5 separate regions of the Homo sapiens genome follow, and regions 1, 2, 3 and 5 are each linked to region 4. Evidence: promoter capture Hi-C in 16 types of primary human blood cells and fetal thymus (Javierre and others, 2016). All regions are on one chromosome and are shown on one strand. Each heading gives the region's core, a stretch centred on a gene start or on the middle of the fragment in contact. The rest is flanking DNA. Distances are from core to core; before and after follow the strand shown.

Region 1 (3,383 bases), core at 486-2,985, 300 kb before region 4:
TGAAATAATTGGAATGAATCAACTTTTCAAAAACATATTAACATTCCAAATTGAATCTAGTTAGTTCACATAATGGGTTAATACCTAAAGGAGCAGGTTAAAATTGTAGGTAGTTAGTAAAGCCAATGCAAAAAAAAGTTCCAGGTGCTGCAATTAATATACGTAAAAGTTTCTCAAAAACTCAGAGTGAACTTTTACACTGATAAAGTATGGGGTTAAAAATGTAACCCTGACTAGATATTCCTAGATGCTACCAACATACTCTATTAAAATAGGACAAAAACGTTTTAAAAAATCGAAAAGGACAGTGATAATATTTATATGGCACTTCCTCATAAGTGGAACTTACATTTTTTTGAAAAGATCTTCTATATCTGTCCGAGGACAAATCTTTTGTGTCAGTTCATAGAACTTTTCATAAGAAAATGCTGTGGGCTCAATTTCATCATTCTGTAAGGAATAAAATCATGTTATGAATCACAGAACCGTTTTTCCCTTGGAGGGTGAGAAGCTACAGGGTCATGAAGCACAGTGAAGACCACTTGGACTCAGGGTCTTCATCTCTGATTCCTGCTGACAGAAGCCAGGAGGCCAACTTCCAGGCACTGCCAGGCCATCTCACTAAAAAACAGTGCGTGTACATCAGTGTTTCTAGTTATCATGCTGCCAGATTCTGTGTGTGCGAACACCTGGCTACAGCTGGCCTTGCTCTGGGAAATACCCCAAAGAACGAATATAAATATTTCCTCCAACTCACCTTGAGGGAGAAAAGTGCCTGCCTGAGGGATGCTGAATAAATCAAGCCCAAGGTTTAATTATGCTTATTTTGTGAATTTTTGCAAGACCATGTGAACGGGCTTAGGGTAACCATGTAAGATTTTACTTTTCAAACTGAAATTTATATTTCAAATAGGACTTATTAAAATAGTACCAGGCTTCAATCTTTCTTCAAGTCAATAAATTAATTTCAATTATTTTAAATTTGAAGGGCCATGAATACAAATGGTGCGGGGAGAGATGCTTCACAAAATATTGCATAGCCATCTTGTAGAATTGAATTTATTAGTTAATTATTCATGCTAATGTTGTGCCTGGTTGAGGCAGTGTTGGTGAGCTTCTCTAAAATAAAAACTGTGTAACACAGCAAGCTGGCCTTCATTTCCTTTTCTTAAGAAAGGTGACAAAAATCATTTGAAGCAAACTATTTACATTTTTAGAGATTTAGGTTAAAATGCCCAGGCAACAAAAGGAAGGAAGGGAGGAAGGAAAGGAGGGAGGGAGAGAGGAAGGGAGAGGGAGGAAGAAGAAAGAAAAGAAAATTAACTGTACTATATGTCACTGACATATAATTCCAAATCTAATTTAGATCAGTTTAATATAAATAATCTAGCTCATTACATATGAGAAGATAAATAAACAAAATGGTTTTAGAAATACATTATTAAGTTAATGCATACCTTTCCACTGGGAAGACCTAACTCCTTGAGTGCTTGAAAGATCACCTTTTCTGTTTTTCCCGATGCAAATGTTCTAGTAATACTAGGGCAGAAAAGAAAGAAACACACATTCCAGTTATTGTTCATTATGTTTTCTCTGATGCAAAGATCCAGGTCCTACTATGGAGAGTGAGACTAGGGTAAAAGGAAGAGGAGAATAAAATTACCTCTCATTGCAGATGTTTTTCATTTCCCAAACTAGTTCCTCCAGTGTCCCTCTGGTTCCCAGAGCTGGTTAGTCTAGTGATGCAACTTGAATCTAAGACCAGGGGTCCCCCTGGTGCTTGGGAGAACAAGGGGCAAGCGGCACTGGAGGGACACACATTTATTTTTTATTTTTTATTTTTTGAGACAGAGTCTCACTCTGTCACCTAGGCTGGAGTGCAGTGGCGCTATCTCAGCTCACTGCAACCTCTGCATCCCAGGTTCAAGCAATTCTCCCGCCTCAGCCTCCCAAGTAGCTGGGACTACAGGTGCACGCCACCACACCTGGCTAATTTTTTGTATTTTTAGTAGAGACGGGGTTTCATCATATTGGTGAGGCTGGTCTCAAACTCCTGACCTCAGGTGATCCACCCACCTCGGCCTCCCAAAGTGCTAGGATTACAGGCATGAGCCACAGCGCCTGGCCTGGGACACACATTTTTGGACAAAAACAATGATAAATTCTGATGCTACCAAATTGCCTTCTTATGAAAAAGGAATGTGGCAGATAAGACAGTAGCTCTAGAACAAACCCTCATGTTGACAATAACTGGGCCTAGGGAAAAGGAGGCGGCCCCTTACAACTCAATCCATGCCTTCAGTTGTCCTTATCCTGGTTCCCACACTTAACCACAGTTGACACGGGCGTGATCAGACATATTTTGTTCTTGTTTTCAAGCTAAGCACCCTTGAGCCCCTCTGAAATGTCAGCTGCCTCAAGGATAAGGGACTTTACTGTCAACATGATGGGTTGGGTGAGGGGGAAGGGGAACAATTATCCAATGTTTCAACAAATCTCAGTAGTACCCCAAGACATAGTATTTTTGGATAGCCTTTTAACTAGAACAGTGAGCATCAAGGCTAGTAGAATAGATAACACCTTGATGAACACACTTCCTGGTGATGATAAAAGTTAGGAGAGACTCTCCATTATAAATGTGTTGGTGCCACTCAGAATGAAAGCTATTGAGCAGAGGACTTGGTACCCTGGAACACCACACTTGGCTCTGAGCCATACCTTAGCCACCAAGGAGCCTTCAATCGCTCCCTGATTGGAAGCCCAGGTAATGTGTTACCATGATAATTTCATTTTAACTCGACATTCAGAAGTCCAGCTTGACTTGAGGATGGAGTTTTACTTCTATCCATGAGGGCTGGCTTTGGAATGCCTCCCCTGTGAGCACAGAAGGATTTTTAACAGCATCTCATGCCCAGCGTTTTTGTACTTTCCGCCATCCGTGCTAAGTAGAAGGCAAGTTCTGAATGAGAGTGCTGACAGTTCCTCTTCCTGAGTGGGAGAAAGCACCACTTCAGTGGCAGAGTAGGACTTCCCAAAATAGACTAAGAAGTAGCTGTAGGTAAATGAATTATGTGTTCATTCACAGCTTTATTGTTTCATGCCAGGTCCAAGAATACTTCAAGAAGTACATTTTTAAGAGTTCTTGAGACAGTTGTATTCAAATATAAGGAGGCCTGTGAATTCTCTTTAACAAATCTACAAATATGGGAGAGAATATGTGTGTGACATCAATAAATGGTTAAGATTCCTAGTATAGAGGGTGCTATGTTTACATTTTTCATCTCTAGAGTTCAGGTAATTTTTATACATTAAATTTGGGGTAAGACAAAAATTTTGTAGCCTTTTTAATTTAGGGGAAAGTAGCTGTTCAGGGTGACTATTAT
Region 2 (3,215 bases), core at 500-2,999, 260 kb before region 4:
CAAATAGGGCATAGTCAAGTCTTATTACCAGCTAGGGACAGCTATTTTGGACCAGATCATAAAAGCTTTAACTCTACCTTATTTAAACATGAGTTGGCCAGGGGCTTTTCTGTGTTTGTCACTGGACAGATACATTAGGACGTAGAGAAATGTGAAATGGAGTAGGCATTCACATTCCATCACAAAACTGCGTTTTCTGGGAAAGAAAACCTTCAGAAGAGGTGGCAGTCCACAGTGGTTTTGAGATCCAGGCCTTGTAGTGGTTGGTTCCTGGGTTTGCATGTCAGCCTCCTCACCAGGCAACTGCTGGAGAATCTTGCAGTTATTCTGCTTAACCTTGCCATATTTCACTTTTCCTAGCTGTAAACTGGGAAAACTGATACCGACTCACAGGGCTTTCAAAGAATTAATATTGAGAATGTCTAAGTACCTGGGACAAAGTAAATGCTGACTAAATGGTCGTACTTATGAGAAAATAGCTACAATTTTAGGGCTCTTGTTGTGAGGTATTTCACAAATACTATCTCACATAAATCTCATGATAACTCTGCAAGGTTTTAGACTAGATCAACATTGTCCAACGGATTTACCGTGATGATGGAAATGTGCCAGATGGGTTCTGCCCAATACGTTCACCATGAGCCACAGGGAGCACTTGAAATGTGGGTAATGCAACCAAGTGCTGAATTTTTTATTTTAATTAATTTTTCATTTAAACAGCCACAATGTGGTTAGTGGTTACCATATTGGCCAATGCGGTTTCAGAGAGAAGGGGGGAAAAAGGTTCAGAGGAGACTAAATTATTCAAAGCCACAGTCAAATAGTAACAAACCTGAAATTCAAGCCAGCTTCTCTGATTCCAAAGCCCATGCCTGTCTGACTTGGGCAAACTTGACCAAGCAGGGCCCCTCTGCCTATCGCCAGAAGATTGTTGGACGGTCAATAAACGAACACTGCCTAGGTAGACTCCACTAGGTACATATGAGACTCACCCTCCTTGCTTCCTGGTTTGATAAGAATGGAGAGGAAGTTAAAAAGACCTTGTCAAGGTTGGAGAGAAACAAAGAGGAGTCTGAGGAAGAGGCCATAAAGGATCTCATTCAATTTAAATCACATTATGCGTGACTACCACCAAAGAGACCTCATAAACCAGGGAGAATGATGGGTGTGGCCTTCAGACTGGGAAAGCAGGTGGAGTCTGGTTTGGAATTAACCAAGAGGTCTAGCTTTCTATCAGATCCTGAAAGCTCAGAGCCCAAGAGATGCTTTATGGCTTATTTATTTCCTCTCCTTATTCCAGGGAAATGCTTTAAGCTTCATACCTAGCAGATCCTTTGTGATTCTGCACAAACACCGCCTCTCTCAGAACCACAAATTTTTATTTTTTTCAAGTTAAACTAAAGCCCTCAGTGATAACATCCTGCCATCAGAATGATTTATGGACTGATGTAATAGATGGGCATGGGTCCTTATTAAGTTGCTTTTACCCTCATGAGCTTGGTCTCTTGCTTGGAAGGATATAGAATGTTCATTCCATTTGTGCCTCTCCTATCTGCTTTAAGATCCCAGGAGATAAAGGACACTGGGCCTCTCAGCTCACATTCCACATGAGGAGCCAGAGGGCACGGCTGTAGCTGCTCCATCACAGACCCTTGCTATGTGCTACAAGTATTACCTTGTGAAAAAATCTGTCAGACAAAATAACAGCATGTGTAGCTCCTGCATTCCTTTTGATGGCCTTTGATTCTTTGGACAGATGTTCCTATTGGGTTAAGTTGTTAAATATAGACCTTTCCCCCTTCCACCAGTAACTGATGCTCAGCTGGAATCCAACAGGGAGATGCCGTTCTAGTCTCCTGATGAGCAATTCAAAAGGCCTGTGGCACCTAGTAATATGCCTACTATTGCTAGGTAACATACACAGTGCTTCCTAAGAGCCAGGCAACGCTCTAAGTACTTTCTCTACATTAACTTATTATCCTCCCAACATTCCTATGAGGGAGGTACCATTTTTATTATTGATATAGGAGCTAGAAAGAAATTATTAGGCAGATAGTGTCAGTACAAGGAGTCTTCGGCAAGGCTTCCCTTTTAATAAAAGTAGCCCCCAAATCATTTCTTTTCTAACAAAGAGCAGCCTGAAAAACCGAGCTACAGACATAGATAAACAAGCTGGAAGCTTGTACAGGTGAATGCTGGCAGCTGCGCCAAGAGAAGGCTACCTGGAAGCCAGGTATGTTCAACACGGAGGCTCCATCTTCCCTTTTCTTTGTCACCACGTGTACAATAAGGACGAGGCAACATGGCACCAGCCAGCTAGAATAACCATCTGCATAATAAAAGATTAGGGTGGAGTGGCCAGCTTCTTTGCACACTTGCAAATGGCATGCCTCCTCCAACCGATCTTTCATCCCCTGTGTAAATCACATACCCCCTCCTTAAGTTCATTTATTAAACTTTCTGCATTTCACTGCGGAAGTGGCAACCCATTTTCTCCAGGAGCCCTTTCTGTGCAGAGAGCTCTTCTCTTTCTTTTGTCTATTAAACTTCCACTCTTAACCTCACTCTGATGTGTCCACGTCCTAGCTTTCCATGGCTGTGGGACAACGAACCTCGGGTATTACCCCAGACAAACAACGCTGCTTCACTATTTATACCTATTTTACAAGTGAGGACATTGAGGCATGCAGATCAAATGTTTTGAACAATATGCTACACCTGCTTTGAGGCTGACACATGAAAGACTGACAGTGTTCAGGAGTGGGCTCAGGTAACTGCTCAGCAGTCGGCTCAGGTAACTGCTCAGCAGTCATACCTGAAGAAGCCTCTGCTATTCTCCTTGCCACTGATGCCAGCAATCATCACAAAGGATCAGATGGGTTTCTGAAGTGTTTTGGTTTTAATTACTGCATTTCTTATGGATTCCCCGTGAATCCTACCACATAGATAACTGAACAACTGTACTACTGAAACATTCTGTACTTATTACAGTTTTTTATGGGGGAGTGTATTTTGTAAGAATTCTGTAAGAATTTTTTTTCAGATCCTAGGACCAGGAAAAACTCTGTTCCTACTGACCTGTTGCTTTCCTTACAATCTAATGGACACTGTGAACCCTACAACAACTTGTGTTTTCTACATTGCTTTAGCCACCAGGAACACCAGAAGCAAATCTGAGGCTCACCTCTTTCAACTTTACAGATCATTTTCGCTGC
Region 3 (3,358 bases), core at 777-3,276, 270 kb after region 4:
TCTATTATAATCTTAGAATCTAATTTTTCAAGAGACACAGAGTATTTTTGAAATAAAACATTTTCTGATTTTTACTTAACAGTGTGATGCTTCTTATTGTGCCAACTGTCTCAGCCAAACTATATTTCCCAGAGTTCCCTTTCTGTATGTTTCCAGCTATTGTGGGTTCCATGGAGATTCTTCTGAGAATTGGAGGGCTGATGGGGGAGTCAGCAGTCATTGTGTAATACTCAGGCATTGTTGCTGATCTGTTGATTTATGTGTCTGGTTGATGGGAAGCAGCAGCTGAGCCTGCAATCACTTCCCCTGCCCATTGGGTCTTCCTTTAATTGTCTGACTCCTGGGCCAGGGGTGTGTGTGTGTGTGTGTGTGTATGTGTGTATGTTCAACTCTGTGACAAAGAGGCTCAGCTTCTGCTGGTTACTCTAGTCACCAAGCCTACTTGTAATTTTCCTTTCCTGCCTGCCTGCTAGGGTCCATCATTAGAGAGACAGCATTGAGAACGGGGCAGATAGCCATCCACCAAAATTGCATAAGCCAATTACTGTCACACACACACACAATCTTTTACTGGCTCTGTTTTTCTAGTTGAACCCTGACTGATACAGATGTTAACTAATTCAAATATTTCAGAAATGCAATGTGGGGACTTTCTATTTCTGGTAATGGCTGATTAGGTTATTTGGACCATCCTTTCCACTGAAAAAAATTAAGAAGCTGGGTTTGATACTAAAGCTTTTTTTTTTTTTCGATATAGAGTCTTGCGCTGTCACACAGTCTGGAGTGCAGTGGCATGATCTCGGCTCACTGCAGCCTCCACCTCCCAGGTCCAAGCAATTCTCCCACCTTAGCCTCCAGGGTAGCTGGGATTACAGGTGCACACCAGCATGCCTGACTAATGTTTGTATTGTTTTTAATAGAGTCAGTGTTTCACCATGTTGGCGAGGCTGGTCTCAAACTCCTGACCTCAAGTGATCCTGCTGTCTTGGCCTCCCAAAGTGTTGGGATTACAGACATAAGCCACCATGCCTGGCCATTAAAACTATCTTTAAAGACCCAGAGAACTACAACAACTTAATGATCAGGGTCAAACTGAAGGGGACATTGAACCTAGAAAGGTAATAAGCAAGGAAGCTGCTTTTGCCCTGATAGGCTTTTGCTCATGATGGAAATTGTGTGTTCACCCTTTGATAGCCTTGAAAGGTGAGGAGCCTACAGTCAAGAGCTGAGGCTTTCCCAGAGTGAGAAATCTCACAGGAAAGCTTCCCTGCAACAAGCTAAGACATACAGATTATATATTTGAAAATAAACCAAATAGAACATCTGGAAATAAAATACAAAACCTGAAATTAAACACTCAGTGGATGCATAGAATAGAAGTTTAAACAAAAAATTGGTGCATTGCAAAAAGTGTAGGAAAAAAAATTGCCCACAGAGCAGTAAAGAAAGACGAAGGATGGAAAATACTAAAAACAATTCATTGACAGAGGAGATGGAGTAAAAAGGTTCATTTTATTTTATATGCAAATATATATGGAATCTTAGAAGGAAAGAAAAAAAATGACAGAAGCCATATTTGCTTTCATGATAGTTTAGAGTTTTTGCAGAACTGAGGAAAGTGATCCATCTAGCCATCTCAAACACATATTTAGACACACTATAGAAAAACTGCACAAAATGTAAGAAAAAAATACTAAATGCTGTCGGTGGGGGGAGGGGGAATATAAATTATCATCAAAAGAACTGTATTAAGACTAACAGTTAACCTCTCAAGAACAGCAATAGATGCTAGAGGGTGGTGGAAGTTTATCTTCAGTGTGCTAAAGGAAAATAACCACCAACACAAAATTTTATATCCAGTGAAAATATCATTCCAGAATGGAGGAAATGTAGATTCTCATCTATTACTACATTAAACAAACAAAGACATTTCTGCACAAAAACAAAAATAAAAACTCCAAAGAGTTTCCCACCAGTAGACCGCATGAAAGGAACTTCTAGAGGAAGTACAAGATGATGATCCCAAATGGGCAGAAGATACAAGAAAAAACGTTTCACAAAGAATATGTGAATATGTAGACATATCTAAATGAACCATGATCAAAACATAGAATAATGTCTTATGTGTTTAAAAGTCTATTAGATTAAATTTCAAAAATAAACTGATGAGGGACCAGTGGAATTAAAATTGTTCCAATGCCCTGGTATTGCCCAGAAGGAGAGTAAACATGTCTAAGTTTTATACTCAAGAAAATAAGGCATAACTATATTTGTTTCCTAAAAAGGCAATTCTTTATATTGACAAAAATGAAAAAGAATTTTCTTCTACAGAACAAACAAAAACAAACCACTGTGTGGTTAATTGAGACTTGACAATGAGCAGAAACACTGTCTATAAGCAGCCAGTTTCCACTCTGCAAGTTTGGCTTCTGGGAGAAGATCCAATAAGTGCTGGCAAGGAAGAATCCATTTCCCCATCAAGCCGCAAAAGATTAGAGGAGGCACAAATGCATTACTTTAAAAAATATTTTATTTTAAATCCCGAAGTTTGCCTTTTCTCTCCCAAACACAGGAGATATCAGCCGCATTTAAGGTTCTGTCTCAGAGCCCAGCGGTAGGTCTAACAAGACTAACTTCAAGCAGAGGGATGAGTCAATCACCCTGTTACAAAGATGTCAGAGGGGAAATAAGGAAAATCAGTCTATATTCCCTTGGTGGAGGGAAAAAAAAGAGCCAGTAGCTACATGATGAAATGTTCTTTGGGAATGAATTAAAATGCCCTAAAGCTTCCCGGAATTCTCTCTTGATGATGAGCTAAATTAAGCAGAAAACCTGTGTTCTAAGAAGCATCAAAGACAAATTAAGCATCAGAGAAAAAGTAAATTACACATTTATTGACTGTTTTATGAGGTTATGGAGATAGTTCATTAAATATTCCCCTCAAAAGATGATTCTTCTTATAAAGAGAGTCAGGAGCAGCAAAGTGATCAATAAACATTGGCATATTCACAACAGACTCAAGGCAACTTGTGACTAACCGTGTTTTCTTTTCTTTTTTTTTTTTTTTTTGAGACAGGGTGGTCTCACTCAGTCGCCCAGGCTTGAATGCAGTGGCGCGATCTCGGCTCACTGCAACCTCCGCCTCCCGGGTTCCAGTGATTCTCCTGCCTCAGCCTCCCAAGTAGCCGGGACTACCAGCGCCCACCACCACACCTGGCTAATTTTTGTATTTTGGTAGAGATGGGGTTTCCCCATGTTTCCTACTGGCTTTGGCAAACCCAGGTATGGAAATCCCCAGGAAACCAATTATTTCACTGAGTCAGAAGACTGGCCAGTGTTTACTGCGTCCATCTTGAAA
Region 4 (3,768 bases), core at 1,269-3,768:
ATTTGAGTTTTCCAGCTACATCTGAAAAACTGGGGATGAAAATTCAGACACTAAACTCAGAAGCTAATTTCACTTATATTGTTACATCCTTTCACAAATTAGCATGCTAATGTGATCACAAGGAAAACAGCACAGCAGCCCTGAAGCTCACTTTTACCTCAATTTTACTTAGAGGGTGAGGTAAAGATGAATACCAGGCAAACATTTCAATTCTTAATAAATCAAACCCCAAAATGAAGTTAGTGGTATCTTAGGAAAATACCATGTTTACTGAAATTGCCAAATATAACTGTCCCATGTTGCCAAAGTCAGCAGTATACATTAATCTAAAGACAGTTGTGTGTAATCTTGGGAAAGGCAAACTAGCTGTGCTACGGGCACTGAATGGACTCTGCTGTGGTTGAAATATTTCAGAGGTGATACAAATTTTTAAAATCTTTTCCTGCAAAAGGTTTTTGGTAACCTGTAACACTTTTTCAACTACCATATTTCTTTATCTCATAAGGCAAAAACACACCGCCTCACGATTCCAGGACATGTAAGCAGTTTAACATCACTCACATTTTCAGGCATATAAATATAAAACTTCCAATAGAGTATTTTAGAACAAAGCTTTCTGCGTGGGTATGCATTTGCAAAATAAAGGTAGAGTTATTCCGACAGATTTAAATGTGCACCCAGTGATCAAATGGAGTTAGAAATTCTGTTTTGACAGTTACTTGTAGAACAGCATTTTCAACAGCGATTAATTCAGAGCTGGGTAGTAATACCATCAAAACTAAGTTCCAACTGTTGAGTAATAATATAGTTGGAAGGAAGTGTAGTCCATAAGCTAATACATGGTACCTTTAGATATGTTATAATACGTCACATTCAAAAGGTTACTCGTCTGGCAGCAAGTCTTACGTTCATAAAAGTGCCAATAAAAATGTTTTGCCATTTCAAAAAGTGATTTTTTATGAAAACAGGTGCTCTCCAAAGATGGCAATCATTTATTAAACTACTACAGTTCAAAAGGAAGATGATATAATAGATCAATACACCAGCTAAGGATCATGCAAGACTGTCCTATGAAAAACAGCATTCTGGATTACATAACACAGATAGTGAGGGATTACACCACATGCCCCTGCTGAGCTAGACTTTTGATCTTCTGTATGATTCTATAACTGAGGCCACTCAAATTTGAAGAGTATAAAATATGAGGGTCTCAGTTCAACCACACATTTCTGAAAACAGCCGTCTTGAAAACAATAAAAGAATAAAGTTAAAATTTTACCTTCCCCCGCAACACACACACAATTTTTCTATTCTGAAAAACACAGTTGTTCAGATACTTTCTTAACCTCCTTGGAGCCTCCCCAGGTAAAGTCACCAGTTGCTTTTCCTGGTCATGTTTACATTATAAATCTGATTTCTCTTTAAGGGGAAATTCAATATCATTTTAAAATGATACATAGCTGCCTATGTTTGAATAACGTTATTTCCAGACAAAAAGAATTATTAAACAGCTATCTCCACATACCTATAACTTAAATATATAGACCACTAAGTATTACGTATATGGAAAAAAAAACACCTTTCCTGAATATTCTGGCCAAAATTAAATTTCAAATACATGTTTTAGAACAATAGCTAGAATCACTACAGAAGTTAAGAGGAAAAAAAGTTGGAAGAGTAGGGTCATCTTTCAGATATATCCATATTTATGGAAACTATAGTGGGCAGTTGTATTTCTCTCTAGGAAAATGCTAGTTTTATGATTCTAGATAAAGTTGCACTTAAACACACTTGGAAATTAGAGAATTCCATATTTCCATACTTCGATTCAGTACCATATACGAAGTCTACACTCAGAAGTATTGTACTATACAGAGTCTAATTGGTTAAAGCAAAAGCAACTTTAAAATTCTGAAAATAAGGATTTCCTTCACTAACAGGCTTTTAGGAGGCCCGAACCCTGCCCCCAATGAGTGCTAAGCCTGTCAGTGTTGTTTTAAGTGGAAACGGTCAATCATTTCTATGATTTCCCCAGAAGAGGCAAGAAGATCCACACGCATACACATTTACATGCGTTGCACGGTGCCAACTATTTCCAACCAAAATAATCATATACACGTCGAGCCGAGCTATTTCTAGCCCAGAAGAGGGTGAACGTCTGGAGAGAGTCTGAGGAAACCCAGCAGGCGATGACTGCAGGGGAAGGGGGATGGCGTCTGGGTCCCCTGCCTCCCGCGCGCACAGGGCGCCTGGCACCCGGCACCTGCACGGGGTCCCCGCTGGGCATCCGGGTGCGCGCGCGCGCGCGTCCGGGACGCACCCGCGGAAAGCAAACAAGCCCTGAGGGCCAAGGCGGGCGGGAGCATCCTCGGGCGGGACCCGAAATGCCTTTTCCTACCTGTCACTTTGCCTGGAGCTGCTGCCGGGGATGCGGCGACGGCCGCTGCCTGGAGACCCAGTGTGTACGCGCGTGTGTGTGCGCGCCCGTGTGTGCGTGTGCGTGTGTGTGTCTGTGTGTGAGAGATCTTGTTGGCGGTGCAGCTCACTTACTGCTCCCGGCGCGGCGCCACCACCCCCTCCTCGCCATAAAGAGCCGCCGCCAAGCCCCCTCCCGGCGCACCCCAGTCCCGCCCTCCCGCCTGCCTCCGCACCCCCTCCCTGGCCTCCCCGCCTCCCCGTCTCCGCGCCGCGCGGTCCTTACCTCAGTTGAGGGCGGGGGTCTCCGCCGTGGCTCCCCAGCGAGCCCACGGGGCAGCGCCGACCCGCCCGCCCACCGCCGGGCCCTGCGCGTCCCCCGCTCCGGGCCCCGCCGCCCCTCAGCGGCCAGCCGCTTCCTCCTCCCCTGCCCCCGAGCCTCCCTCCTCGTTCTCGCCTCCCGGCTCCAGAGCCCGAGCTGTCGCCTCGCAGCCCCAACCTGCCCAGGCTACGGAGCATGCCCAGTGCGGCGCGCCGGGCTGGGCTGGGGGTGGGCAGGGGCCGGGCCGGCCGCCCAGTTGCCGCGAGCCCGCAGGGCGAGGAGTGGGCGCCGACTGGGTCGGGGGCGCAGCCTCGCGAGCCGGGGGCCGAGCAGCCGAGGCAGGTGGTGGGCAGCGCCAAGAGGAGGTGGGTGGGGCATCCGGGGAAGCCGGCCCGCGGCGCGCTCCTCTGGGGTCTCCCTGGCGGCTCCCCGCGGCATGTGCCCCATGCCCAAGGGTCGGGGGCGCACGGGATGGCGCTGGGCGCAGAACCCAGGGAGCGGGGGCAGAAAAGCGGCACCCTCCTCGGATGGGAGACCCGCAGCCCGCCGTGGGCCGTGTGGAGGGGCTCAGGACTGGCCAGAACGGGGCCCCCAAAGCCGTTGGCTGGGTGGGGGACGTGCTTATTTGTTTATATTCGGTTTCATAAACCCATACAGCGCCTACAATGCGTCCTGCAGTGTTCTAAACGCTTTTTATTCATTTAATCCCTAAAACAATCTTCCAAAGAGTACTACTGCCTCTTTTTATTTCGCGGGTCTTACACAGAGCCACAGAGATTAAGTGGTTCCAAAAAGTCTTCCCACAAGTGCAACCTCAGACATGCAAATCCCCCAGACTTTGGTCCCTGGGATGCTGGGGTGCTGCTCCAGCCAGTTCCTGGCTTTTCCCGGCCCTACAACGGCCCCCAGGTGCCTCCGAGTCACACTCACACCCAGGCCCTAATGGTGTTCGGTCTGGCATCACCCTTGTGTGGACCCTCACAACGTGCTGCTCCCGAACTCCGGAGGGCTCCCTCCTCCCCACTCCGCCT
Region 5 (3,293 bases), core at 780-3,279, 280 kb before region 4:
CCCAGGATAGAAAGCTACATCAGTGAGCCTGTGATAATGACTGACAGCAACCTACTTCTGAAACTGGTGGCTAAAAAGCAACAGGACTTTTGCCCCCACAAAAATTAAAAAGACAACCCAACATTAATTTCAAAAGCCCTTGGGAAGTCAATAATAATCCTCATAAAGTTTTCAAATTCTAAAAGAGAAGAATTGAAAGGGGGAAAAAGAGAGCAACTGGGGCCTCTTTTTCTTGACAGTCTGAAGCTACAGAGTAAAATTGATGAAAGTGAAAGAAGAAATATATTAAGTGTCATATGATTTTTAAATCACCCTCAGAGCATGCTGAATGAGTATGTGAGCAAAAAAGAAGCTGCCATCTATTAGCATGGGAGGCTGTATTTGAAAGATAGAACTGAATGGGTGAGGATAATATTTATACATTCCTAGACAAAATTAAATCATATGATTCTTAAATTACCCTCAGAGCATGGTGAATGAGTATTTGTGCAAGAAATAAGCTGCCATCTATGAGTATGGGTGGCTATGTTTGAAAGAGATAATTGAATGGGTGAGGATAATATTTATACATTCCTAGACAAAATTAATTTAGTCACTCCCAGAGAGTCAAAACAGTCTATCAGCCTTGCTGGTTATCTTGACAACACTGGCCAGTTAGGTCAAAAAGAGCCTCTAAATAGTCACAAGAAAAAAGAGGACACCTGTGCTGTTCAGAAGCTGCAGTCCCAAACTTCCATACCAAATGGCTTTGTTAGCATTCCTTAGACACAATTTTTGCATTGCCTAAGCCTGATTCTATATATTAATAGATACCCTGTAGCAATGTCCTATTGGATCTATAGAATCTTGTCACAAATAACTGCATCTATTTCCAAATATCTACTACAATAAATATACTGTTATGGACACAAAAGATCAGGAGGGAAAAATGTATACATAGAGTATACTTACATTAATGCCTATATTCACTTGTGCTTCTGATTTAGATATACAACACATGATGTTCTTTAGTGCCTGAAAGTCCACAGACCAACTACATTCCTACATCCCCAGAAATCTTTCAAAAATAAAATAAGATTTTTGGTTTATTTTATGTAACATTATTTGGCATCCAAATGGAAAGCTCTAGAAGAATGGAGGGATTTTAAAATGTTGAGAAAACCAAAAGCATCATCTTAAGCCAGTCAGCAACCATCAGTTTTTTGACAGCATTACTTTTGGACTCAACTCAGTCAAATTTGTGAAATTCTGTTGGTATGGGATGAGTAAACAGCTGGTGAATTAAAAGGTGTTCATAGAGTTGTTTCTTTAGTTGATGGCCTGTATTTATCGGTCACATTCTTCCTGACAGGTACCTGTTGACAATGTTGGCAAATTAAGTCATGCCAAAGTAAATAGTATTTCAACTTGATGACAATCATACCTGCTTAGTCTGAGATCAATATAATCAATCAAGAAGCCTTTGTCTAACTCTTAACTAGGCAGCATCCACCAATTTAGTTCAAGCAAATCAAATCTATAGGTAATTCTATAAACTAAATAGGACTTTCAATATAAGAGCTACTAAAAGGAATCTAAATCGGTGGGCTTGAGTTTCATTACCTGGTTCTCTGTCTTTTAAGGTAAAGTCTCCCCACACACAGCAGAAAACAGTGAGGAGTGAAGACAAGTGGAAGTGGAAAAACAGGGAAAATAAATAGAATATTTATGGTAAATATGAATAAATGAATCCTTAGATTACATCATTGTTTTGATACTTCTAGAAAAATATTGAGCTGAATAATGCCTCTATGATATAATTTACTGACTTTTATTCAGTGCCACACTGGTTCTGAAAGATGTTAATGGTGTCTCATCAAAAAATTAAAAAAAAAGTTTAGGAAACAGCTGAATAGCTTTCTTCCTTGCTGAGATCCACATAAGAATAATACTTCTTCTGTTGATGGGTGCAGCACACCAACATGGCACATGTATACATATGTAACTAACCTGCACGTTGTGCATATGTACCCTAAAACTTAAAAAAAAAGAGTAAAGCACTAAGACTCAAATATATCTGAGACCCAGCTCCTCCAAAAAAAAAAAAAAGAAATACTTCTTCTGAAAGCACTACCATAAAGAAACCTGTCTAAAGGCTTTCTCATGCTTAGCTGACCAAAGAACCCCCTTTATATGTGGACTTTTTTAAGGAATCCTTTTTTCAGGCCACTAATTCGGGAAGTACTACTGTATGACTATAGCTCCCACAGATAATGATCTTAAAACATTTGCCTAAAAAGTACATTAACATCACACAGTGTTACAGGTGAAAGAGGCTGTTCCCCCCACTCCCTGCCCCAGTTTTTATACAGATAAGCTAAATCAGCCAACTGGCTGTGCACGGTGGCTCACGCCTGTAACCCAACACTTTGGGAGGCCGAGGTGGGTGGATCACTTGAGGCCAGGAGTTTGAGACCAGCCTGGTCAACATGGTGAAACCCGGTCTCTACTAAAAATACAATAATTAGCTGGGCGTGGTGGCATGCACCTGTAATCCCAGGTACTTGGGAGGCCAAGGCACAAGAATAACTTGAACCCGGGAGGCAGAGGTTGTGGTGAGCTGAGAACACACCACTGTATTACAGCCTTGGGGGACAGAGTGAGACTCTGCCTCAGAAAAAAAAAGAGAAAAAGAAAAAGAAGCCAACTGTGAATTGCAGCACAGGGTGGTGGTAGAATTCAGGATCTAGAGCACTAGAGAGAGCCACTGCCTGGGCTCAAAACACCACTTACTGGACGTATGGCCTTGAAAAGTCAAGTTACTCAACCTCTCTGGGCATCTTTATTTGTAAAATGAGGATAATCATAATACCTATCCCACAGACTTGTGAGAGTTAAATGAGATAATACATATCAAGCACTTTGAACAGTGTCTGACATACAATATAAACTATTTTCCTGCTGCTGCTGCTACTATTATTAGTATTATTATTAGAGACCAGCAAATCTTTTCCATTAAGAGCCAGATAATAAATATTTTAGGCTTCAGGGGCACACATAGTTCCATGTTGTCTAGTTTTCCTGTTTTTTTTTTAAATTTATTTTTTAAACATCGCTTCAAAAATGTAAAAGCCATTCTTAGTTCACAGGACATACAAAATTAGGCTAAGGGTTGTGTTCAGCCCATGGCCTGCACCTGCCGACCCCAGATTATGATCATTAAATTACTGGCTCCAGATCATAGAGCTTGGAGGCAACAAAGTCTCATGTAATACAAGGGATTCTGCCCACTTCTTCATGCCATCCAGTTTTTA

What was found. The method cuts DNA at HindIII sites, captures the fragments that hold promoters and counts their contacts. A CHiCAGO score of 5 or more calls a contact.
Region 1: a contact is called between a fragment that was not itself captured here and the fragment with the promoter of PLCB4 in region 4, in 1 of 17 cell types (megakaryocytes). The highest score is 8.3, in megakaryocytes.
Region 2: a fragment that was not itself captured here is called in contact with the fragment with the promoter of PLCB4 in region 4 in 1 of 17 cell types (megakaryocytes); the score reaches 6.5 in megakaryocytes.
Region 3: a fragment that was not itself captured here is called in contact with the fragment with the promoter of PLCB4 in region 4 in 1 of 17 cell types (megakaryocytes); the score reaches 5.8 in megakaryocytes.
Region 5: a contact is called between a fragment that was not itself captured here and the fragment with the promoter of PLCB4 in region 4, in 3 of 17 cell types (megakaryocytes, erythroblasts and M2 macrophages). The highest score is 10.4, in megakaryocytes.

What each region holds. Positions count from the first base shown.
Region 1 is chr20:9,369,370-9,372,752 of GRCh38, reverse strand. PLCB4 (phospholipase C beta 4) reads right to left here. Exons shown (of 40, transcript NM_001377142.1): 10 at 1,458-1,539; 11 at 350-450. Among named protein-coding and RNA genes, the nearest start is that of LAMP5, 140 kb to the left of the region's middle. The HindIII fragment of the contact is 4,180 bases long and covers 1-3,383 here.
Region 2 is chr20:9,328,176-9,331,390 of GRCh38, reverse strand. The region is part of intron 4 of PLCB4 (phospholipase C beta 4); the gene reads right to left. Among named protein-coding and RNA genes, the nearest start is that of LAMP5, 180 kb to the left of the region's middle. The HindIII fragment of the contact is 865 bases long and covers 1,317-2,181 here.
Region 3 is chr20:8,795,589-8,798,946 of GRCh38, reverse strand. The region is part of intron 31 of PLCB1 (phospholipase C beta 1); the gene reads right to left. Among named protein-coding and RNA genes, the nearest start is that of RNU105B, 34 kb to the left of the region's middle. The HindIII fragment of the contact is 1,524 bases long and covers 1,265-2,788 here.
Region 4 is chr20:9,067,837-9,071,604 of GRCh38, reverse strand. PLCB4 (phospholipase C beta 4) reads right to left here and starts at 2,518. Exons shown (of 40, transcript NM_001377142.1): 1 at 2,399-2,518. The HindIII fragment of the contact is 10,687 bases long and covers 615-3,768 here.
Region 5 is chr20:9,349,936-9,353,228 of GRCh38, reverse strand. The region is part of intron 7 of PLCB4 (phospholipase C beta 4); the gene reads right to left. Among named protein-coding and RNA genes, the nearest start is that of LAMP5, 160 kb to the left of the region's middle. The HindIII fragment of the contact is 6,190 bases long and covers 1-3,293 here.